Linked DNA regions of Homo sapiens: region 1 is linked to region 2. Evidence: promoter capture Hi-C in 16 types of primary human blood cells and fetal thymus (Javierre and others, 2016). All regions are on one chromosome and are shown on one strand. Each heading gives the region's core, a stretch centred on a gene start or on the middle of the fragment in contact. The rest is flanking DNA. Distances are from core to core; before and after follow the strand shown. Region 1 overlaps PHGR1 (proline, histidine and glycine rich 1). Region 2 holds the start of BMF (Bcl2 modifying factor).

Region 1 (5,180 bases), core at 2,518-5,017, 250 kb after region 2:
CTGGTCTCGAACTCCTGACCTCAAATGATCCACCCATCTAGGCCTCCCAAAGTGCTGGGATTACAGGCATGAGCCGCTGTGCCCAGCCAAAAAAAATTTTTTTAATTAGCTGGGTGTGGTGGCACATACCTATAGTCCCAGCTACTCCAGAGGTTAAGGTGGGAGGATTGCTTGAACCCTGGAGGTCGAGGCTTCAGTGAGCTGTGATCACGCCACTGCACTCCAGCCTGTATGACAAAGTGAGACTGTCTCAAAAAAACTTTTAAAGAGGCACTAAGGCTCCCTAGAAAAAAAAGAGGTTCAGGGGGCTGTGTCTTGCAAGAGGCTAGGGTTGTTGTATTGGGGGCGCTGTTTGTTTTTGTATGCTCAGCAAACTTGTAAGTACCAGAAAGCCCTGATGTCAAGTATTTGCTCCTGACGTCACATACTACACTCCCATTTGAGGGTTGAAAAAAAATGAATGTACTGTATGTTCACTGGGCCCATTCTGGGGTTGTCCATTGTGACTTGCCAGCCCCAAGCAAGACATGGCCAGCCTTGGCACCACGTTACCTCAGCAGCTCCATCTCATGACAGCACGGCTTGTTGGTGAATGACAAGTTGGCTCAGACTCCAAGCTCCCACCCCCTTCCAATCCTGGTGGGAGGAGACAGGTACAAGCAGCTAGGACCCCATGGAAGGCTTTCCATTCACTTGAGCCCCAGGGCAAAAATCCATTCACTTGTGCCCTCAGGGGCCACCAACCCCATTCCTGTCCTAGCAAACCATCCTTCCCGTCCCTGCACTGGGCACACTGATAGCTCCAAGCTTCCTGCTCCCATGCCATGCCAGATGTTTACACAAGACAAGAGTCTGTAGGGACAAGCATACCATGACCTGGCACAGGGCAGACACACAACATGAATAATTAGCAAATGAACGGATATTGAAATCTTCCCAAGAGGAATCGGATTAACACACAATTGTTGAGTCTAGGGGGGCAAGTGTAAGAGTATGGGGTGTAGGGGCTGGTACATGGTGCTGTTGTGTCTCCATCTACCCACCATGTAGGTGAACCCGCTGTGTCCATTTAACCCCCATGCCTGGCACCTACAGTGCCAGCTCTATATTGGGGCCAAGCTAAGCCGGAGGGAGCAGTTTTTTCCCTTTCTTCCTTTGAAGGGTGTGTGTGTGTGTGTGTGTGTGTGTGTGTGTGTGTGCGCGCGCGCGCGCATCCGTGGGAGGGAGAAAGGAAAGACTGCAATTTAGATTACAGTAAATTAAAAGTTACCTTTTGAACACAGGTATTCCCTGCTCTTACTCCAAAAAGATGGACCCAGGTAAGCACTGTGGCTGAGAGGCTGGGAATTGGAAGAAGGGAGAGAGCAGGAGAGCGGTAAAGGCAGGGACTATCAGTCAGCCATAACTAGTGCGTGCCAAAAATGTACGTGCGTGTGTGTTTGTATGAAGGCAGTGGTAGGGGTCCACAATGAAGACAAGCCCTTACATACTGTAGAACATGTTACAGTTTAAAAAGCATGCTTACTCATCATGTTCTTAGGTGCTTCTAAGGGTAGGTGCTTCTCCCACCGCACACTCAAGGCCCAGGGGAGCTAGGGGTTATGCTCAGGGAAAGGCCATAGAGGTGCAGCTGGGTCGGAATCCAGAATCCAGTTCTTGGGAGCTGTGCCATCGGCTTCCCTCGAAATGAACAAAAGACCGTCCTAGCCTTTAAGAAGTAGCAGGTGATTCCCACACCAATGGGGCACTTCAGAACATGCAGGACCACTCAGGTGGGTGCTGCAGGAGCCCAGTGGACCCACAGCTGGGCAGCCTGGATGGCTCCCATGTGGATTTCCTGCATGAGGGCAACACGCAGCTGCTCCAGGGAGATTTCCAAGTGGGAGGAGGCATGAGCAAAGGCCAAGAGCTGAGAACAGAAGGTCATAAACAGGAGACAACAAACAGCTCTGAGAGGCTGAGCAGAGATTGGGCCGAGATACGTGGGGCGTGACAGGGGCAGAGGACAGATGGGGAGGTTGGCAGGGCTGCTGGCCTGGAGGTAGAAGCAAGAATCAGGTGGATGACAGGGTTGGCCACCATGGAGCACCTCCAGGCTGACAGAGTTGAGACAAGAACCCATACCTCCTAACTGGCGCCACTCCACCCAGGAGGACTCAGCCAGCCCTTGAGCACACAGGGACACACTGCTGAACCTTATATTGACTTCCAATATGTATCTTTGCTGAGAGAATGAATGAAGGAATGATTGTCAGGCAAGTGACCATGTCTGAGAGGCCCTGTTGGGTTAGGGGTGTGGGCACAAAATCCTTAGTGCCAGGGAGAAGACAGGTTTTTTTTTACTGCAGAACCAAATGACCAAAGCTGCTTCTTTTTTTTCCCTTCCTCTCCCACAGGTCCGAAGGTAGGAAAGTTCCCCCAATGGTCTCCCCTTTTTCCTCCCACTGTCATGTCCTCCAGACCCCTAGCCTCCTTCCTAGACCCTCAGGGAGCAGCCACCACTTCCCCCAAATGAAAAGAAGGGAGCAGGCTCAGGCAGCAGCCCCGTGGAGTGGGGGTGGGGTGGGCAGCGCTGCACTCCTCCACCCCCTGCTGGCTGCAGCCTTCTTGGCGTTCTCTCCTCTGTTTTCCCATCTGTCTCTCTCCTTTCCTCACGTCCCCTCCCTGCCCTAGCAGCCCATCCTCTCTCCTGCTGCTTCCCCGCCTGTGCTATGCTTTTCTGCTTTCCTGGCTACCCCCACAGCCTTGCTGGATAGCTGGCTTGCTCCCAAACTCCAACCACACTATGGGGCCCCTAGGACCTACTCCTGCCAGAGAAAGGAGACTGCGTCTCCTCCACCTCTTCTCACCCACTGGCTACCACCAGCAGACTCAGTTCCTAGGCCTGGTCTGTGTGCCAACCCCCAAACAAAAGAGCCATAGGCAGAGAGGCAGGTGGGGTGGGAAGTGGCTGTTTCCAGGCATCACTGAGCCTGGATGGGGCAGGGGCTGCTCTACCATGGTCACAGGAAAGCGCCCAGCCCTGGAGCCTGCCTCTTCCCCACTGGTACCAAGCCCTAATCAAGCCCTAGGAGGCAGAAGGAGACTGGGGAGTTATCCAGCCCAGACAGTGGGAGCATAGCCCCGCCCTGCTCCACAGGGCCCCAGACCCCGAGTCCCCTACCACAGAAGCAAGGTGGTATCTCTTGCCTGCCCCCTGGGCTTGTGGCAAAAAGTTAAAAAAACAAAAAAAAAACAAAAAACTCCCCTGGCCTTGGGACTTCAGGAATGATTCCAGCCAAGATGGAAGGTTAAACCACACTTTTTCCAGACCTCTTCTGACTGAGGCAGAAAAGCTTTGATTTTACTTTCTATTCTTCCTGATTTCTTGGGTCTGGCATCCGCTCAGGAACAGGTATGAGCTCGCACATACTCATGTACACAGAACCATGCACTCCATGCACGTATCTGTGTACATACCAAGCTTGAATATGAACCCACCCATGCACACGTACACAAACATAGCTATTTTATATAAATATGGCACACACCGTCTACACACATACACACTACCTATAAAAAGAATACATACATCCTCACCTTGCCACCTCCTACCCTCCGTGTCTTCTCATCCTCCAACTGTCTTCCTTCTTCCCCTCCTCAGCTCTTTCATCTCCCCTGACCCAGCCTCCTGTCTCCCCCTGCCCCTGGCCTTCAAAGAGCTCTTCTGTAGCCTCCTCTAGCCTCACCCTTGCTCCTAAGTACAATGAGCCTGCAGTTCCTAGCATGGCAAAGCCTCTAATCACTCTGCAAGGGTTCCTGGGTGAGAGAAAGGAGAAGATGAAATAATTCTGCTTCTTAGTTGCAAATAAAATAAATCGAGGTACAGGGAGCGGGAGTCATATCTTGGCTCAAAGAATAGAAACCAATAAATCTAGGTTGCTTGCCTTTTATCTGCTCAGTGTTCTGGCCTCACCAAGGCAAAAGGCACGGGACATGCTACCCATGCCCCCAGCCCTCCACCGCAACTCCTTACTTGCCTAGAAATCCTGAGTCCCCCAGGGAAGTGGAGTGAGGGAGAGCTGATCTCAGGTAAGCTTAGCCCTGACCTCTGACTCTGACATTGTTCATTTGACTTTCCACAGGGGCACTGCCACTGTGGGGGGCATGGCCATCCTCCAGGTCACTGCGGGCCACCCCCTGGCCATGGCCCAGGGCCCTGCGGGCCACCCCCCCACCATGGTCCAGGGCCCTGCGGGCCACCCCCTGGCCATGGCCCAGGGCCCTGCGGGCCACCCCCCCACCATGGTCCAGGGCCCTGCGGGCCTCCCCCTGGCCATGGCCCAGGTCACCCACCCCCTGGTCCACATCACTGAGGAAGTAGAAGAAAACAGGACACAAGATGGCAAGCCTGAGAGAATTGCCCAGCTGACCTGGAATGAGGCCTAAACCACAATCTTCTCTTCCTAATAAACAGCCTCCTAGAGGCCACATTCTATTCTTTAAAGAGCCTGTCTTCCTTCATATCCAACCTGGCTGTCAGAGGACCCAGTTGTCTCCAAGCTCCCTAGTTGTGAAGATGGGGCAACCATCCTGGCATTCTCAGAAGCTTAATGCCATGGTGCTCACTATAAATGGCTGTGTAAGGTCACCTCTCCTTTCCTTTTCACTCCTGTGCCCTCCCATCGAGGAACTTCAAGTGTGGCCTCATTACCTCTATGCCATCCTGTACATCCAGATCTGGTGGGCCTTCCAAGGTTGCAGCTTGCATGCCTCACTCTACAGACCAGAAGCCTCCCTCCAATCCAGATGGTTTCTCACCATTCCCTTAAAATACACTGAACTTTCCAGCCCCCTTACCTTTGTTTGCACAGGTAAGGAAGAATGCCCCCACCCCAGGTCAGGAAGGCCTTCCCTCTCTCCTACCTCCACATTTCAAAGCCCACCCTTTCTTCCAAGCCAGCTGAAGCCCCACCATCTCCAAGAAGCCTTCTCTAAGGCCTATTAGGAAGAAAGAGGTCCTTCCTTTTTGCATACTGTCCCCTTCTCAACCACCTCATGGGCCTCACCATATCTTGCCTATTGGCAGCAATTTATGGGCTGGCCCTTTATCTCTCCAACCAAACTATAAGCTATTCAGGGCAGACCCAACACTTCTACACCTCTAGATTCTTCCACCCCATTTCTTATGACCTGTGTCT
Region 2 (5,312 bases), core at 2,262-4,761:
TGTGGCAACTGGGGGCCACCTTCTGCCTTTGGGAACCCTCCCTCCCAGAACCGGCTGGGTTTTTCCCTTCATTGTCAACAGCCAGTCACAGATCCCCCAGACTTCTCCAGGGCAACAGGAGCCACTTTATAGTAGGCAAGTCACTGCTAGGACACTAAAGGCCAGGCCACTCAAGGGGCACAAGATGTAAAAGGAGATACCATGGACCCAAGGATCCCTCCAGGAGGGGACAATTTGCCCTTTGGGGGGTCTGAGGCACAGGTGAGGAGCAATAACAAGCCGAGAGGCAGCAGGTGGAAGTCAAGGAATCAACAGCCCCGCTGATCACTTTGGGGGAAGGAAACAGCAAAGGGCAGGTTTGGGGAGGGAAAGTCCCCTCTTTTCCCCCAGTCTCTATGGGAGGAGTCTTGAGGCTGAGAGCACTCACCATAAAAGAGTCGCTGGGGTTCCTCAGTCACCCCACAAGGCAGCATGACACCTTGGCTGGGGGAGGCTGGGCTGAGAGTCTGGGTAGCTTTGTCTTCCTGGCTGGTGGGTCGAAGGCCAGGGCCACAGCAGTGGGTGAGAGGGAAGAGCTGAAGTCGGCTGAGGGGGCAGTCCAGTAGGCTCTGGGCAAACAGGTCAGCAGAGAGCAAGCTCCCGGGTTGGGTCACCGGCTCCCCATCCTCTGGTTGGAACACATCATCCTCCAGCTCCTCCACACACTGAGATGGCTCCATCTCTCCTGTGAGGGGGCAACGCAGGCATCTGGGCTGCTGCCCCACCAGGGCCATACCTGGAAGGACTCCCCTTCCCTTCTTCCTACCATACTCCCCCTTCTTATTTGAGCTGGCCGGACCACATACTGATGACATACAACCCTGGTAATAAAGCACTGCTAAGGGTGACATTCACTCCCCAAATGTGGACTGCCTGAATGTTCAGGGGCTCTCCACACCTCTTCCCTGGGCCCGCCTGGAACCACCCTTTTTCTTGATCACGTTTTCTGACCTAGGCCGGTCACAAAGTTTGACTCTGAGGGTTGTGAGCAATAGCAGGAGTAGAATCAGCAGCTATATGCATGCAGGGTACCTGGGAAAATATAAACAAGACTAGCCTCTGTAAGTTGCTGTCAAGGGTGCTGTGACTGGCTATACATACAGTGCTCACAACACACACACACACACACACACACACACACACACATACAGAGTCATTGTCCCAAGGAAATTCTTATCTCAGTCTGAGCTGAGCTCCAGGCTCAGCAGCAAAAACAAAAGCCAGCAATCCTAGGACAGCCAGGTTCCCTCCAAACCTCTAAGCCCCGCCCTGCTGCCCATCTACTCTAATCTCCACCCCTTGCTTGCACAACACAACAAACAGGCTCTGCAGTGTGGTAAGAATGTGTCCTGGGAGAGGGGATAAAGACCCAAGCTAGTCATTGCAGCTGCCGTCTCGGCTCTCTTTGAGCAGAGTTGAGCTGTCTGCCCACCAAAGTTTGGCCTAGAGGGTAGGTCCAGCCTCTCCCAACTAAGTCTCCTCACTAGTCTCCACGACTTCAAATCCCTGATTCCACAGCCTCCCGCTCCTGCCAGCTCTGAACCTGAGACTGGTACAACTGGTCTTACAGAAGGAAGTGAAATTCAGCCCTCTCCCTGTGACCTCACTCACTGCCTATACTGCTGAAGTTATTGATATGAGTTTCTTGGTGATAAAGAAGTTCCTCTTGCTCCACCTGATGGCTCTTGAAAGTCTGAGCTTGGAGCTACTCAGCATCTTAAGCTTCCAACCCAGCTCCCTACACATACCAGGAACTGCTTAGGGCCCCTGCAGCAGCCAGAAGCAGCAACCACCTGAACAGCTAAGGATAAAAAGAGATGAATTTCATTCTTGTCAGACTCAATTAGAGATTCCTGGGGGTTCTGTCCCCTAGTCTCTTGCCTTTGAAGAACAAGCCAAATGGTCTATGGATTGGTGAAGTAGCTAAAAGAATCTCAGTTCAATTCAGAATGCTGCCTTTGCCAAACACAAGCTGTGAGCTGCTTGCTTGGGCCCTGCCTTCGTCCCATCCCATCCCTGTCCCTGAGCTGTCTATGGTCCTGTCTGTGCCCTCTTCCCTGGAGAATGAGGAGATGCCTGCTAGGATGGCAAGCAGCCACGTGGTGTTCTTTGGACCGTGTTTCCCAAGTGTGTGTGTGTGTGTGTGTGTGTGTGTGTGTGTGTGTGTGTATGGGGAGGGGGGTGAGGTGGTGCACTCCAGCTTATTAACAACAGGAAACAAAATTTCCTGATGAAAGGACCAAGTGCTGTCCCGCCAGTCACCTGGCAGGGGCTCCCCTCCAGCTCTCCAACCTCCTCTTCTCAGGCTAGCAATCTTGACCTAAGAAGGGGCCCTCAAAGCCAATCACCAGCACGAGTCATTGTCTTGGTTTTTCCTTTGAAGCCTATCACCTTCCCCTCCCCCTCCCAGCAAAGCCCCAAAGTTCAACCTTTGCCTGGACTGGACAGTGGGGGAGGTGCAGCCAGAAGGTGTGGCTCTGCAAGCCCCAGGGACCCCTCTCACGCTCCACAAACTGTAGGTGGCTTGCCTGTAGGTGGGCGCCTCTGGAGGGGTGCTGGCCAAGGTCAAGGGTAAACTAAGAGAGGGTGAAATTTTTCTCCTGAGCTTAAGAGGTGATGTCCAGAGCGGTGGGAGGAGGAGGGCACTTCCTGAGAACAGGGCCAGGGAATGCTTTATTCCTAGCAAAGGAACTCAAGCCCCGCTGCAGCCATCCCAACCCCTAAGGGCTGGAAGAGGGATGCTGAACTTAGACTCCTCCTCCTCTTAGGAGAAGGCAGTAGTCAGACACCCAGATCCTCGACAGTGACTAGGAACACACACACACACACACACACACACACACACCCCAGACCTGGGTGACTCCAGGAGAGAGTCTCGGCCTCCGAGTCGTGATGCCAGGGCTCCGCGCCAGGGTCCAGCGTGACGAGCACTCGGGGGCTGGACGCCCAGACTCGATTGGGAAGGAGGGAAAAAGCCCAGCTGTTAAGGAGAGGAGCCTTCAGACTCCGCAGAGAGGCAGGATGCCCCACAGCTCCTGTCCTATCCCAAAGTCAGACCCAGAGGCTGGGCCGTTCTCGGGCGCCCAGGTCTGCTCAGCAGTGCACCCCAGGTTCCCCTGCCTACCTGGACCCAACTCCTTCGAGTCCCAAATGCTACCCCCAAGTTCCCTCTTGGAGCAGCGCACCCAACTGTGGGTTCTGCACCCCGTTCCCTCACCCCAGCGCCCCAGTTCTTCATGGTCACCCCAGACGTCCGCAGCCCAAACCCTTCCCGGGCCCCCGTGCGCAGCGCGACTCCGCTCCCCACTTCCCCAAGGAGCTGCGATCCAACTCCGCCCGGCCCCCGGCGGCCACCCGGGCGCTCACCGGGCTGCGGCAGGAGGCGGGAGGCGCAGGCAGGGGCGGCGGCGGCGGCGGGCACAGGCCGGGGCGGGAGGAGGCCACTCCGCACGGTGCGGTATTGTTTCCAAAATACGCCTGCTCGGGGCATCCCGCAAACAGCTGATGAGGCCCCGCCCCCCTGCGCGTCACGCCGAGGACTGACCAATGGCGAGTGAAGCGCCAAGTCCCGGGCTGGGCCGCTGCCAGGGACGGTCACGAATGTACGAACCTTCCCATGGAAACATTGCAAGGGGCCGAGCAAAATTCCGACCGTCGCCAGAAGCGCAGTCGGAGCGCCGTCGCCAGTGCGGATTCTGTCCCTAACACAGGCTCTGGAAGCGCCAGAGAGTCCCTGAATCCTCTGTATTAGGTGTGGGAGAGGGGGCGCCAAAGTAACTTTTGTCTTCTTTTTCACGGCAATGGGCAGAATAATTGCTGCGCGTCCACAAAGGGAGGGGGGAAGGAGGCGGGGAGTTTTTTTATGAGGCTGGTGCGTCCAGTGGGTGCAGGGTGCAGGGTGCGGGTCCCTATGGGATCCCAGCCTCAGGGGAAAGCTCCCTCCCGCCTGCCGAGCAGGTCGGAAGAAAACTGCAGCTCCAAAGCTGAAGGTGTGTTTGAAACAAACACATCCAGGGGAGCCCTTAGGTCCTCTTCTTGACTGGGCGTGGGCACTGGCAAAATAAGCACCTGGCTGAGAAGCGGAGCGCTCAAGAAGGCCGGGGCTGCTTGAGCGGTTGACACATATCTCGCATATGGCAGCATTTAGAGACTGTGCTGGTGCTGCCAGGAGAGCAGCATGTCCTGCAGACCGCGTAAGGGAGTCTATGGGCTACTTCACAGGCATTTACCGAGCACCTACTCTGTGCCAGATATTGGGCTGAGTGCCAGAAACCTGGCGTCTGCCCTCAAGGAGCTTACAGTCTACTAGGAGAGGTAGCCCTGAAAATAGTGAAAAGTTATTGGAATTGTATTCATTCCAAGGATAATGACTATTGAGGAATGCAGAAAAATTCAGAATACAAAGGCTGGAGAAGGCCTCAGGGAGACAGCTTTTAAATTGAATGGGAAATATTTTTCAATAAGGAAAACCAGATGCACATGTCTCACGCCTGTAATCCCAACACTTTGGGAGGCCGAGGCGGGTGGTTCACTTGAGCTCAGTGGTTGGAGACCAGCCTGGCCAACACGGGAAACCCTGTCTCTACTAAAAATACAAAAATCAGGCGGGCGTGGTGGCGCATGCCTGTAATCCCAGCTACTTGGGAGGCTGAGGTAGGAGAATTGCTTGAACCTAGGAGGTGAAGGTTGCAGTGGGCGGAGATAGCGCCACCGCACTCCAGCCTGGGCGACAATGAGACTCCGTCTCAAAAAAATAAAAATAAAATAAAATAAAAAAGAATAGCCCAGGCCTAAGGGTAGCAGACTGAAGTGCTGAGCTGGAGAGCTTACCTGTGCAGGGAGCAGAGGGAGGCTTGGTGACTGGATCATTGGGTGCACACTGAGATTTACGAACGGTAGGCATGGGCAGGTGGGTTCAGGTCAGACTACAGAGGTGTCCCTGGAATGCCAGACTGAAGAATCTGTATTTTATAAAGGGGAGGCAGCAAAGATTTTATTGGAGATGAGTGACTTGACCAAGCCTGAGTTTTAGGAAAGATAAAATGATGAGTCCAGAGAGCAGTGAGAGGGAGCCAGTCCTGCAACAACCCTGACCCACCAGGGGCAGTAGGGCTCAGCAGTGCTCTGACCACCGAGCTGCTCTCTGGGTTGTAAACTTAGATTTAAGTTCAGTGGAGCTGGGACCTTCAGCCCAATAGAGCCTGAAGTCTCCTTGTACCTTTTTCCCATCATTCTTTCCTTTGCTCCCTCAGAAGTCACCTGAAACAGAATGA

What was found. The method cuts DNA at HindIII sites, captures the fragments that hold promoters and counts their contacts. A CHiCAGO score of 5 or more calls a contact.
Region 1: a fragment that was not itself captured here is called in contact with the fragment with the promoter of BMF in region 2 in 1 of 17 cell types (total B cells); the score reaches 6.0 in total B cells.

What each region holds. Positions count from the first base shown.
Region 1 is chr15:40,351,949-40,357,128 of GRCh38, forward strand. It overlaps PHGR1 (proline, histidine and glycine rich 1), which reads left to right. Exons shown (of 4, transcript NM_001145643.2): 2 at 1,284-1,319; 3 at 2,397-2,404; 4 at 4,125-4,486. The coding sequence starts at 1,310. The coding sequence ends at 4,355. Among named protein-coding and RNA genes, the nearest start is that of PHGR1, 3.5 kb to the left of the region's middle. RefSeq lists an enhancer at 2,456-2,981. The HindIII fragment of the contact is 613 bases long and covers 3,462-4,074 here.
Region 2 is chr15:40,105,368-40,110,679 of GRCh38, forward strand. It overlaps BMF (Bcl2 modifying factor), which reads right to left and starts at 3,512. Exons shown (of 5, transcript NM_001003940.2): 1 at 3,406-3,512; 2 at 2,892-3,019; 3 at 428-724. The coding sequence starts at 719. RefSeq lists enhancers at 225-274, 495-544, 2,115-2,810 and silencers at 1,541-1,835, 3,320-3,569. The HindIII fragment of the contact is 6,207 bases long and covers 1,760-5,312 here.